Linked DNA regions of Homo sapiens: region 1 is linked to region 2. The links are contacts of gene promoters, found by promoter capture Hi-C in human tissues and cell types (Jung and others, 2019). All regions are on one chromosome and are shown on one strand. Each heading gives the region's core, a stretch centred on a gene start or on the middle of the fragment in contact. The rest is flanking DNA. Distances are from core to core; before and after follow the strand shown. Region 1 overlaps IGFN1 (immunoglobulin like and fibronectin type III domain containing 1). Region 2 holds the start of IGFN1 (immunoglobulin like and fibronectin type III domain containing 1).

The links. Contacts are between HindIII fragments. The study calls those that stand out against the background at their distance.
Region 1: a contact is called between a fragment that was not itself captured here and the fragment with the promoter of IGFN1 in region 2, in 1 of the 25 tissues and cell types used here (psoas muscle).

What each region holds. Positions count from the first base shown.
Region 1 is chr1:201,227,975-201,234,067 of GRCh38, forward strand. It overlaps IGFN1 (immunoglobulin like and fibronectin type III domain containing 1), which reads left to right. Exons shown (of 24, transcript NM_001164586.2): 24 at 412-978. The coding sequence ends at 425. Among named protein-coding and RNA genes, the nearest start is that of IGFN1, 40 kb to the left of the region's middle. The HindIII fragment of the contact is 5,710 bases long and covers 1-4,483 here.
Region 2 is chr1:201,186,683-201,193,400 of GRCh38, forward strand. It overlaps IGFN1 (immunoglobulin like and fibronectin type III domain containing 1), which reads left to right and starts at 4,142. Exons shown (of 24, transcript NM_001164586.2): 1 at 4,142-4,225; 2 at 6,565-6,618. The coding sequence starts at 6,612. The HindIII fragment of the contact is 14,085 bases long and covers 1-6,718 here.

The sequences.
Region 1 (6,093 bases), core at 379-2,878, 39 kb after region 2:
GGTTTTTCCTTCGATAGTACTTAAAACACCTTATATTTTGAATAGCAATAAAAGGCAAGCCTCAATTGACCTTTGTGGAAAAACGGCCCCTTTGCACTGGAGCAGAGCATCTCTCCTCTCTGTAGCACCTGTGCTTAGGCATTTAGGAAGCCACTCTCGAAACACCCCAGCTTGTGTACACATGTAGTCCCGGAACGAAGATGGCATTGGGGGTGATTATGGTTCCCCGAGGGGCCAGCAAAGGGCTTTGCCCAAGCTTAGAGAGCACGTGGTGGCTCCAGATTTGAACCCACACCCCCTGATGGCAGAGCCTGTAGTCTAAGCCCCATTCTGAGTTTTCTTCACCACTGAACAGATGCAGGGTGGGGTGGCTGCCCCTCTGAACCAACTGGAATATCCTGTGTCTTGCAGAACCCAGCACCTAGCCTCACCTCACCCTGGGATGGTCCTGGACCCTTGAAGCTTCACTTCCGACACCTGCACTGGCCCGGGAAGCCAATCCCAAGGATGGAGGCTGTGCCCAGAGCCCCAGGAAAATGGGAGTGAGAAGATGCCTGGCGAGGTTTTGGCCAGGAGGACGTGAAGTCCTTGGGGAAGAAAAACAAGGGAGGAGGGCATTCCACCTCCTGGCTCCAAGCTAAGTCACTCAACAGAATGACAGCGAACCTCCTGGACCCTCACCATATGGGTTTCTTTCTTCTTCGCTTCAGGAGATCCAGAGGGCACCTGCCTGCAGGATGGGCCGGCTCCTTATTTTCCTGGGCTGAGCCGTTTGGAGGGAGGGTGGGCACAGCTGGGCCTGCTGTGACCACTGGGAGGGAAGAGGAGAGGAGGTCAGAGGACCTGGGTGAGGACTAGGGCATCAAGGTCGTGTGTGTGGGTGGGGGCAGCCTCCACCTCCTGGATTCAAGAGATTCCAGGGGTGCAGCAAGTGCTTTCTATGCGTTTCTTCATTAAAACATTAGGCTAATACAGGCAGATCATTGGCAAATTTACTTGGGGTGGGTGTGTTGGAGGAAAGATTTCCAAAGCGGAGCCTTTATTCCAGGCTTCAGTTGGGAGGATGGGTGGGTTCTGGATAGAGGAAGAACGGGCTCAGAACTGGACTCTTCTCCTGCAGCCCAGGCCTACATAGTTGATTGCAAGGGCGAGAAAGCCAAGAAGGGTTAGAGGGTAATGGAGAGGCTTCTCTTCCTCCTGGCCTTTGTTTCCTGCACTCTTCTGACTGGCAGAAATCCTGTGAGCAGCAGGGCTGGAGGCCTCCCCAGGTGTTACGTGTGTGGGGACCACAGGGCTGGGGTTGCCTAGGGTTGGCCTATGTCCGTCACTCCCCGGGACCAGAAAGAGTCTGAGTTGGGGAGAATCCTACTCCAGGATCTATGCCCCTGTCAGAAGGGGAAGAAAGAGGCTCTCAAGTGCATGAGGGTGACTCTCACTCAAGGCTGCATGAGGCCTCCTCACCTTCTTCACAGTCCCCACTGCCCCATGTCACAGGAGGGATGGGATGCCTCCCTTTCCCAGGTGGGTCACCCCACCACTGCCCCCAGAACTCTTGCACTCCATTATCCTCAAGGCATGGCCCCCAAACTCTCAGGCTCCCAGGAAATATTCCAGAGTTTCCAGGAGCCAAAAGAAAGGAAGGAGCCCCGGGGAAGGCTGAACCCCACTCTCTCCCAGGGCATCAGCTCTGAGGCCCAGCAGGTGACCCGATGAGCTAGAACACTGTCTGCCCTTCACTCCCTCTGCTCAGATCCTGGCTTCTGCTTCCCTCAGCCTCCCTTTGCCACTAACTGCAGGTCAGATGCATGAAGGAAGGAGGGTGAATCACAGGAGGAAGGGTTAATGCCAAAAATCTGTTTCTGAAGAGTGAGAATATGTGACCAAGGGAAGGTTCTCTGAACCGGAGAGAGAACTGTTCACCTAAAATAGACCAAGAGTGTCCCCCAGAGGCAGGGACACACACCAGACAACCTTTTATAGCTCATTCCTTCCCCTACCAAAGAAACCTGCATGAGCTGTTTTCCTTGGAATTTCTCTTGTTATCTCTACCTTGCTAACACAGCAGGCCAACACCATGGCCATAGGAAAAGAAGGAAGTTCTTAGAAACTGAGAGGCAGTGGCTGGACACCTCAGCCTGTGTGGGGCAGTTCTCATGAGTTCTTTCCATGCTGCACGGTCCTGGAGTTGAAGGAGGGCAGGGCCTCAGGCCAATAGTCTGTGGTTTCAGAAATGCAGAGAAGAGGTCGTTTGCACAGAGGGGGTGACCCAGTGCCTGTGGCATGCCTAGCTCTGAGCAGACACTCATATTGAGGATGAGAAGAGAGACCTTTCTGTACCTCTAAGGGTGGGCTACAGGGGACTGACCTATTGAGGCAATATAAGGACAAAAGACTATAACTCATGATGGCTTCATAAGACACCTTCATTTTTTTTTTATGAGCCTGGATCAGGCACTGTGGAGGCGGAGATGAAGATGACTCAGATATGAGTCCTATAGCCAAGGGATCCATGGCAGGGACGCAAGACTTGAATACCAAGAGCCATAATCCAAGGTAGCCTGTGATGCATATTCTAAGAAAGGCACCAATAAAGTCTAGAGGAGTTCAGAGGAGGAGAGATGCTGCAGACTGAGAACCTCAAGGAGGGCTTCGTAAAGTGGTAACATGCTTGAGGGAAAAGTAGCAACTGGACAGGCAGGAATGGGCAAGGGTGTATCACGGTGGAGAACACCATGAGCAAAGGCAAGGAGGTAGGGAAGCACAAATTGGGTTCGAGGGCTGGCAAATGGTTCAGATTAGACAATTCAGGGTGACCTATGTAGCTATCACAGCCCTTTGGTCTAATGCCAAAGGGAAACATTCTAGGACCAAATTTACAGGTGCATGTGTGCTCTGGGCGCCAACCACGATGGAGGTGGAGTTCCTGCCCTTGGAGGCCTGGGACAGTGGAAAGCAGTTGTCTCTTTTGGCAGTGGACAGCAGAGTGCCAATATCCTGGGGCAGGCCAAGTTAGGTGTCCCTGGGAGGGGCTAGCATACTTCTGTAACTGGGGTGGGATATGAAGACAAAAGGAATGGTCATGGCATTTTCATTCATTTCCACACAAAGCCAAAAAAAGTCCCTGCCAGTCAAGTATAGAATCTGAGCGTATCTCAAAATAATAAGAGCTATTTGTGACAAACCCACAGCCAATATCATACTGAATGGGCAAAAACTGGAAGCATTCCCTTTGAAAACTGGCACAAGACAAGGATGCCCTCTCTCACCACTCCTATTCAACATAGTGTTGGAAGTTCTGGCCAGGGCAATCAGGCAAGAGAAAGAAATAAAGGGTATTCAATTAGGAAAAGAGGAAGTCAAATTGTCCCTGTTTGCAGATGACATGATTGTATATCTAGAAAACCCCATTGGTTCAGCCCGAAATCTCAAGCTGATAAGCAACTTCAGCAAAGTCTCAGGATACAAAACCAATGTACAAAAATCACAAGCATTCCTATACACCAATAACAGAAAAACAGAGAGCCAAATCATGAGTGAACTCCCATTCACAATTGCTACAAAGAGAATAAAATACCTAGGAATCCAACTTACAAGGGATATGAAGGACCTCTTCAAGGAGAACTACAAACCACTGCTCAATGAAATAAAAGAGGACACAAACAAGTGGAAAAACACTCCATGCTCATGGATAGGAAGAATCAGTATTGTGAAAATGGCCATACTGCCCAAAGTAATTTATAAATTCAATGCCATCTCCATCAAGCTACCAATGACTTTCTTCACAGAATTGGAAAAAACTACTTTAAAGTTCATATGGAACCAAAAAAGAGCCCACATATCCACAATCCTAAGCAAAAAGAACAAAGCTGGAAGTGTCATGCTACCTGACTTCAAACTATACTACAAGGCTACAGTAACCAAAACAGCATGGTACTGGTACCAAAACAGAGATATAGACCAATGGAACAGAACGGAGGCCTCAGAAATAGCACCACACATCTAAAACCATCTGATCTTTGACAAACCTGAGAAAAACAAGAAATGGCAAAAAGATTCCCTATTTAATAAATGGTGCTGGAAAAACTGGCTAGCCATATGTAGAAAGCTGAAACTGGATCCCTTCCTTACACCTTATACAAAAATTAATTCAAGATGGATTAAAGACTTAAATGTTAGACCTAAAACCATAAAAACCCTAGAAGAAAACCTAGGCAATATCATTCAGGACATAGGCATGGGCAAAGATTTCATGACTAAAACACCAAAAGCAATGGCAACAAAAGCCAAAACAGACAAATGGGATCTACTTAAACTAAAGAGCTTCTGCACAGCAAAAGAAACTACCATCAGAGTGAACAGGCAACCTATATAATGGGAGAAAATGTTTGCAATCTACCCATCTGACAAAGGGCTAATATCCAGAATTTAAAAGGAACTTAAACAAGTTTACAAGAAAAAAACAAACAAGCCCATCAAAAAGTGGGCAAAGGATATGAACAGACACTTCTCAAAAGAAGACATTTAGGTAGCCAACAAACACGTGGAAAAATGCTCATCATCTCTGGTCATCAGAGAAATGCAAATCAAAACCACAATGAGATACCATCTCATACCAGTTAGAGTGGCGATCATTAAAAAATCAGGAAACAACAGATGCAGGAGAGGATGTGGAGAAATAGGAACACTTTTACACTGTTGGTGGGAGTGTAAATTACACTGTTGGTTGGTGGGTGGGAGTTCAACCATTGTGGAAGACAGTGTGGTTATTCCTCAAGGATCTAGAACTAGAAATACCATTTGACCCAGCGATCCCATTACTGGGTATATACCCAAAGGATTATAAATCATGCTACTATAAACACATATGCATACGTATGTTTATTGCAACACTATTCACAATAGCAAAGACTTGGAACCAACCCAAATGTCCATCAATGATAGACTGGATTAGGAAAATGTGGCATATATACACCATGGAATACTATGCAGCCATAAAAAAGGATGAGTTCATGTCCTTTGCAGGGACATGGGTGAAGCTGGAAACCATCATCCTCAGCAAACTATCACAAGGACAGAAAACCAAACACTGCTTGTTCTCACTCACAGGTGGGAATGGAACAATGAGAAAACTTGGACAGAGGGTGGGGAACATCACACATGAGGGCCTGTTGGAGGGTGGGGGGCTGGGGGAGGGATAGCATTAGGAGAAATAGCTAATGTAAATGACGAGTTGATGGGTGCAGCAAACCAACATGGCACATGTATACCTATGTAACTAACCTGCATGTTGTGCACATGTACCCTAGAACTTAAAGTATAATGAAAAAAAAAAAGCATCTAAGCATAAGTTTAAGGGTTTAAAGACTAGTTCCACTACTAACTAGTTGCGCAAGATCTTTAACCTATCTATGCCTTGTTCCTCATTTGTAAATTAAGAATAGGAGTTGCCTAATCAAGGTCACAAAGATTTTTCTCCTGTTTTCTTCTAGAAGTGTTATGGTTTTACTTCTTGCATTTCATTCTATGCATTTTAAGTTAATTTTTGTATGTGGTGTGTGTGGTGTGAGGTATTAAGAGTCAAGCTGGGGGGTTTTTTTTTGTCAGAGTTTCTTTTTCTCCATTGAATTACCTTGGAATGCTTGTTGAAAGTCAATTGACCATACATGTGTGGGTCGTCTTAGACTCTTTATTACTTACTCCTCTTCTATTTTCTGGAAAAGTTTGTTTAGAGTTGATGTTACATCTTCGTTAAATGTTTGGTAGAATTTACCAATAAAGCCACTGGACCTGGAGTTTTGTTTGTGGGAAGGATTTGACCTCAGATTCAATTTTTTCAACAAATATATAGGGCTATCCAAGCTACCAGTGACTTCCTGAATGAACTTTGATAACTTGCGACTTTTAAAGAATTTGTCAATTTCATCTACATTGTTGAATTTGTTGGTACAAAGTTGTTTATAATATTCCCTTATAATCATTTTACTATCTGTAGGCTCTGTAGTGATATCCTCTTTCATTCTTCATAGTAGAAACATGTATCTTCTTTTTATTCTTAATCTGTTACCTCATTATCTTTTCTCACTTATCTTTTTT
Region 2 (6,718 bases), core at 2,892-5,391:
GGTGCTTCATTCCCACGAGGAGGCGAATCTGGCTGCAAAACACTTCACTGTGTGCCTTCCAGGAGGAAACCACTTCTCTCCAAGCCCCAGTGTCCATATCTGAAAAGAAGCGAGTTGGATTGGATCCACAGGACATTGGTCGTTAAGAGTGTAGACTTGGCACTGGATGGCCTTGGTCCACATCCTGGCTCTGCCACTCACTAGCTGTGTGACCTTGGGCAAGTTACATAATGTCTCTGTATCTCAGTTTCCCCTTCTGTAAAATGGGGTTAGTGATCAATTCTGCCTTTTGGATTTGTTGTGAGGGATTAAATGAGTTAACATAACTAAAGATTCAAAAGAATATCTGGCATGTAGCAAGAACTCTATCAGGGTTAAATACTGTTGTTACTGCTATAATGTTATTGCTGTTGTTAGATGCCCTCAATGGTCCTGTCTGGCTCTGACATTCTGTGAGAGTCTACACTGCCTCAATAGACTGAAGCCTGTTGTGGCTCAGCCATTCCTGGAAAGTGGAGTGGGATTTCCTCCCCAGCTTCTCCTCATTGAGGGTCCAAAGGACCCCCTCCTGTAGCCCTTGCGCCAGCTGAGCCTGCTGGACTAGGCCCTTCCAGATTAGGGATTGGCTCCTGACTCAAGTTTCTCTGTCACTGAAAGCCAGCTTTGCAAACATGAAATTACCCTTGGGGTCTCCAAGGTCTTCTTTCCCATGAGGCTACATGGGATTCATTACACTGCAGGTGAGGTGAGAAAGACATGAACTAAGGCTGACACATGGGCTGGACTGGAGATAGGGAGGAATATCGGCTAGGCAGGCAGCTGGGGGGCAGAGTGGATGGTTCAAGGGAGCAGGTGGACTGGAGGGCATCCTTGACCGTGGCCAAGGAGGATGGAAGGAAGCACAGGAGGGGTGTTGTTTGTCCACTGGTCCTCCCAGCTCCATCTTCCTGGGTAGGGACTGTGGTTGAAATAGAATCTTATGCCCTAGCTCCAGGCTTAGAGAAGGCCCCTAGTCTCTGAAGACATCTCCACAGGGCAGCTCATAGTCTTCTACCTTTCACAAAGACCTGCTCTGTTGGTGTTGTGTGGTGTATGTGTATGTTTGTGTGTGAGCATGTTTGCATGTCTTTGATTAGAATCTTCCTCTGCTAACCCATCTACATGGACCCCATTGGGTGCAAGAGAGGACACCCTCCCCTGGACAGCACCCTCAGTGACTCACCCAGCTGGGACAGAACCAGTTTTACACCAAGCATAGAGGCAATGAACGCCTGTGAATGAATTTAAACTCTCTCCTGAGTCACATGGACTGCTTTTCAAGTCCACATGGCCTTCCCCATTCAGTCACAGGACTGTGGAAGGTTCAAATTGGCCAGGATCTCAGAGATCATCTCATCTGACCCATGCCATCAGGAGTAAAAGGGTCCCAAGAGAGGCCTTTATGGGGCCTGAGCCTCTTGGTACCTGCCATATAATGCATTTCGTTCTTGTGGGGACAGGAGAGCATTAATGAATTCTGAACCTATCCCTACCCAAAGTCCCTGAGCCCTTTCCATAAGGCACTGAGGAACAATGAATAATGCACACAAATTCACTGCCCAGAGTTCTTTTGACATGGATATTCCCCTAATCGATGAAGGTAAGGTCTTGTGTCTTTTTTTTTTTTTTTTTTGAAACGGAGTCCCACTCTGTCACCAGGCTGGAGTGCAGTGATGCGATCTCAGCTCACTGCAACCTCCGCCTCCCGGGTTCAAGCGATTCTCCTGCCTCACCTCCCAAGTAGCTGGGACTACAGGCATATGCCACCACAGCCAGCTAATTTTTGTATCTTTAGTAGAGACGGGGTTTCACCATGTTGGCCAGGATGGTCTCAATCTCCTGACCTTGTGATCTGCCCGCCTCAGCCTCCCAAAGTGGTGGGATTACAGGCATGAGCCACTGTGCCCGGCCAGGACTTGTCTCTTTATCTCCCAAAGGAAAAGTCTATCAGGAGGTGTAATAAGATTATACCCTGGGAAGTGGTGGTGGATGGCTGGCGATCCAGACATAGCTAAATATTACTGGACACTACATTTGATAGAGGATAAAGTGGGGAGAGTGGTAAAAACTGTGTAACTCATTCTCAGTTCCTTGGAGTCCCGAAATTTCCATTTTATTGCAACGATAGGGATCCATGTATGACACAGCGCAGAGAGGAGTAGGTCCCCTAATGTGGGCTGCTGTTAAAACATGGAAAATGGGGTGAGTGTAGTGGCTCATGCTTGCCATTCCAGCACTTTGGGAGGCCGGCATGGGAGGATCACTTGAGCCCAGGAGTTTGAGACCAGCCTGGGCAACATGGCAAGATCTCATCTCTGTTTAGGAAACAACAACAACATCATGGAAAATGGAGGCCAGTTAGCAGGGCACACCTTGACTCGTGGATCTGCAGGCCATCCCCAGGCCCCAGGGAAGAGCACATGGGCTGTCTAGGGGGGCAACAGAGGCACGTGAAATGCTAAAGGCTCTGCATTGGGCCATGTTCACAGCCTCCTCCTTCCCCCTCCTGGAATGATGCAGCCTCCTCCTTCCCCCTCCTGGAATGATGCAGCATTGTGGCTCAGGAGGCCCCTGGAGCTCAGGGCCCCACCATGAGAAAGAACACCCTAGGGTGTTCTCCTGGGACTGCACTCCTGGGAGGTAGACTCCTGCCTCTCACTTTCTCCTTCCTCCAATCCCTTCCATTTCTGCAGCCAGAATGAGTTCTTCTAAAATGCAGATTGGATCCTGTCACCCCTCCAGCTTAAACAAACCTCAGTAACCTTTACAATAGAGATCAAAACTCTTCAATGGCCCCCAAAGCCTACCTGTCCAAACTCAACTCTCACTGCCACTCTTTCCCTTGCTCTCCAAGGTCCAGCCCTCCCCTCACACTCTCCATTGTCTCCTTTGGAGCCCCTACATCTACCTGCCCCATTAGACTGTGAACTTCATGATGGGAGGGCCCTGTCACTTGCTTACCTTTGTATTCCTAGGGCTTAACACAGTGCCAGAGCCAGGGCTCAACCCACGGTAGGTGTTCAACACATGTTTGTTGAACAAATGAAAGACCAGCCCTGACACTCAGAAACACACAGGGAGGACACACAAATGTATGTGTGTGTGCATGCATGCACACACATACACGTACTTGCGCAGAAGAGGTCAAACACCTCCCCTCTCGGAGCACATCCAGAGGTAGCGCCTGTAGAAATTGGCAAGATGCTAATCAACACATGTAAATATTCAGTGTCCTCCCCTGGATGCAAACATTCACCCCATTTCCCTTCTACTTCACCTGAATCCTCAATCAAGCCTCGCTTATGGGTGGCAACAAAGCAGTTCTCTGTCCTTAAGGAGAGAGAAGGTGGCTCTTTCAAAGCACACCAGGTGGCCTTATCTCCTGGGCCTCACCTGCCCTCCACTCTCCTTAAGAAAATCTGTTACCAGCCATTGTATTTCCAATTTCCACTTGCCATCCATCTGTCCGACCAAAAACCCAACCATCTGCCCTGCCGACTTCGCCCCCAACCCTGCTGGTCAGGTCACCCCTTCTGTTCCTTGAAAAGCTCCTGAGCAAGCTCACCTTCTCCAGCAGGCCTGCTGACTACACAGTTCCCAGGGTCTCCTCCTTCCTGGTCACTCTCGGTGGACTCTGTGTCTGTGACTCCGTTAATGGCTGCCTTCCCTCCCACTCCCAAAGTTTGCTGCCTGTTTGATACCACTTGGAGGTGTGATTCCCAAGAGGGCAGTGGCTTATGTATCTGTGTGACTTATGGTGTCAAAGGTCCCAAGGGACCAGCTTAGCTGAAAAGTTAAGGGTTTGGATGATGAAAATGTCCTTGCTAAAAAGGGTCGTATAAATGAGGCTTCATGGGGCAAATTTACACTAAGCCAGTCTGGTTAAGAGCTTAAAGCTCTGCAAAGCGAGGAGTTGGATGGACTGATGTCACAGGACCCTTCCATCTCTGACCTCCTCTGAGCTAGAATGTTAGCCCTGGGGGCCTTGCCCTGCCAAGCCTGGACTGGAGGAGAAGGAGGAGGCGGGGTGAGTGGGAGGGGCAGAGGGAGCAGAGGCGCCTGCAGCAACCGACACCTGCTCCAGCCCTGCCTGTCCACTACCAGTCAATCCAGAGCCTCAGCAAGCAGCAGCTGGAAACGGGGAAGAGGGAGCAGACAGGAAGCGGGAGGTCAGCTGTACACCCAGGTAAGTGGGTGCTCACACCTGGCTGCCCACCCGGGCCAGGGTAGGGCCAGGATGGAGACACTAGCCTGCTGTCCAGCTTTTCTACGCAGGAAGGGGCAGGCAGTGGGCAGGATGTCTGCCTGGGGAACATTCCCTGGCTGGCGGATCACACGCTGGGGTGCACCTGTATCCCCTCTAGGTTACTCCAGGATATCTGGAGGAGAGAATTTCAGTGTGTCCTGTCTGGGCATTTCTGTCCTGGCTCTAATTTTCTGGACACGGCTTGACTTTGGGTGTGATACGATGACCAGATTAAAAATATCACTAGCAGTCCAGAATAAGGACCTCGGGCTGGGACTTGTTATATTTTGGTTAGTATCATGGTCAAAGCAGTTGAGAGAACTCCATTTGGCTCTTCCTGCCTCAATTTCTACCAGTTGAGAGGTAGCAGGGACCAACTGGAGGTAGCAGGGACCTGGATGTGCAGGATGGATCCGGGGAGGGTAGGGAAAAAGGATGGGGAGCCATAGGTCCTGGAGAGGGGGCAGGGAGGGACTGTCCCAGGATCCAGTGCTGAGAGTGTTGTTGGGACAGCTGAAGTGAGGACACAAACTGCTGTTTCCTTCTGGGAAGAACTGGAGTTCTTCTCAAATGTGGGAATGAATTATGGAGGAGAGAATTCATTTCCTTTCTCATCCCTTCCAACTGAGACTACATCCCTCTAGTCTCCAATCCAACAGATCTCTTTCCCTGTGTCATTGACTTTGTACCAAATCTGGCTTATTCTAAAAGAGAGTGGAGCTCCAGAAGTGGATGCTTAACGTCACATCCCTAAGTTCCCCCAAGAGCTTTGCTTCTTTTGCCCTCCTCTGCTGGGAGCTGTAGGCAGGAGGCTGGAGGGAGAAGAGTGGTATCAGCGTCATCCTTCTTCATGTGTGACCAATAGCTGAGTAACAGGATGATAGCTGCTCGTGGTGATGATGTGGGTGACGATGGGGATGATGACTCAGATAGCTGTGTTGAACTCAAACTACTCCAGTGTGGGGGTCACCGACTGGCACCAGTGCACTTGCATCTACCAGGAGGCTGCACTGAGGGGTGGGTGGGATGGGGGCCCTTGCAGCCCTCCCCCTGGCCGTGTCCAGCTGGGTCCTCATCCGTTGGTGGCTGCCTTCCCTCCCACCCTTCCTCGTGACTCCCTTCGGCGTAGTGCCTGTGGCACCCGTGACCACTCCAGAACGCAGTTGGCGTACCATGGCATTCCAGCACGCTAGGGTGCAGCGGCTGGGCTGGCGAGGGGCTGCCAGGGGTCAGAAGTGCCAGTGGGTGGCCGTTGCGAAATGGAATGATCTCCATGGGAGAGAGGAATTTGCTCTGTCATGTGTGATTCTATATTAATGATAAGGCTCTTTGGGCAGAAAATGGAGTCCCCAAAATGGAACCGCTTGGCCATGGGCCAATCGCACAGAGGGTGGGACTGCTGGAAGATTCTTTCAAGACATCCCCCCTCCCTGATTTATGGCTCTCATCCCACCCCAGACCCAACCCCCTTCCTCTCCTGTGTGGGACTCCCCATTGGCCATAACAGATGGATGCAATTAAGAGGAAATCAGGAGAGATGGTGGTGGTGAGAGAATGGAAAATACTCCTATTCACCTGACACTATAATTCACTGGCTTCTGAGGGGAGCAGATGGATTTATGGGGATCCTACAGGCCTGGGCCAAGAAGAGCTTAAGAGCAGCAAATTTGAGGCCTCTCCCCTGCAGACCTTGTGACTGGAAGGATTCTAGATTGGTGGAGCGTGGGAAGTAGAGGGCTTCAGTGTCCTGCCAGAAAATCTCAGAGTTGGGGGAAGAGCCAGGAGGCCCAAAGAATGTCCTTGGAGAATTCCCATTCCAAAGCCAATGGGGCAAGCTGAAAGGAGCCTGAATCCTTTCACAGCTGAAATCCTTTCACAGCTGAATCCTTACACAGCTGAAAGGATCCTGAATGGGTCTGATTTCCTCAGGTTTGGGAGGGTTGTGTCTCATGTTCTGGGCAGGGTAATCAGGTCTGGGGTCCCACCAGGAGGCCAGGCCACCAGCACAGTGTGCAGGCTCAGCTTATGGTTCCCTTTACCTGGGAATGTTACCAACTGGGTAGCATGCTACCCACTCCCTGGTCTCTGGGAAATTGGTTTTGCTGGGGACAGGGAATTGCAGGAAACTAATCAGTGCCATTAGTGGGTTAGAAAAGCTCTTGGGGGCAGCAGCTTTTTCCAGCTCCCACCCCAGACATTGGCTGATGCACTGATGGTGTGGGAGGGGTGGGGTGAGACCAGCCTGGATTTCTCAAAAGCAATTCCATTTCTGTTCTCAGGGTAATAGAACTTCTACCCTCAGAGGAGTCAAAGAGGAGGCAGAACTATGGCAGGTAAGAGAAGAACTAATCTCCCCTCCCCAGCCCTCCCTGGCGATCCTTACCAGGACAGAGAGGAGAGAAGTGGTAGGGATCAGAGATTTCTGGGAACTTG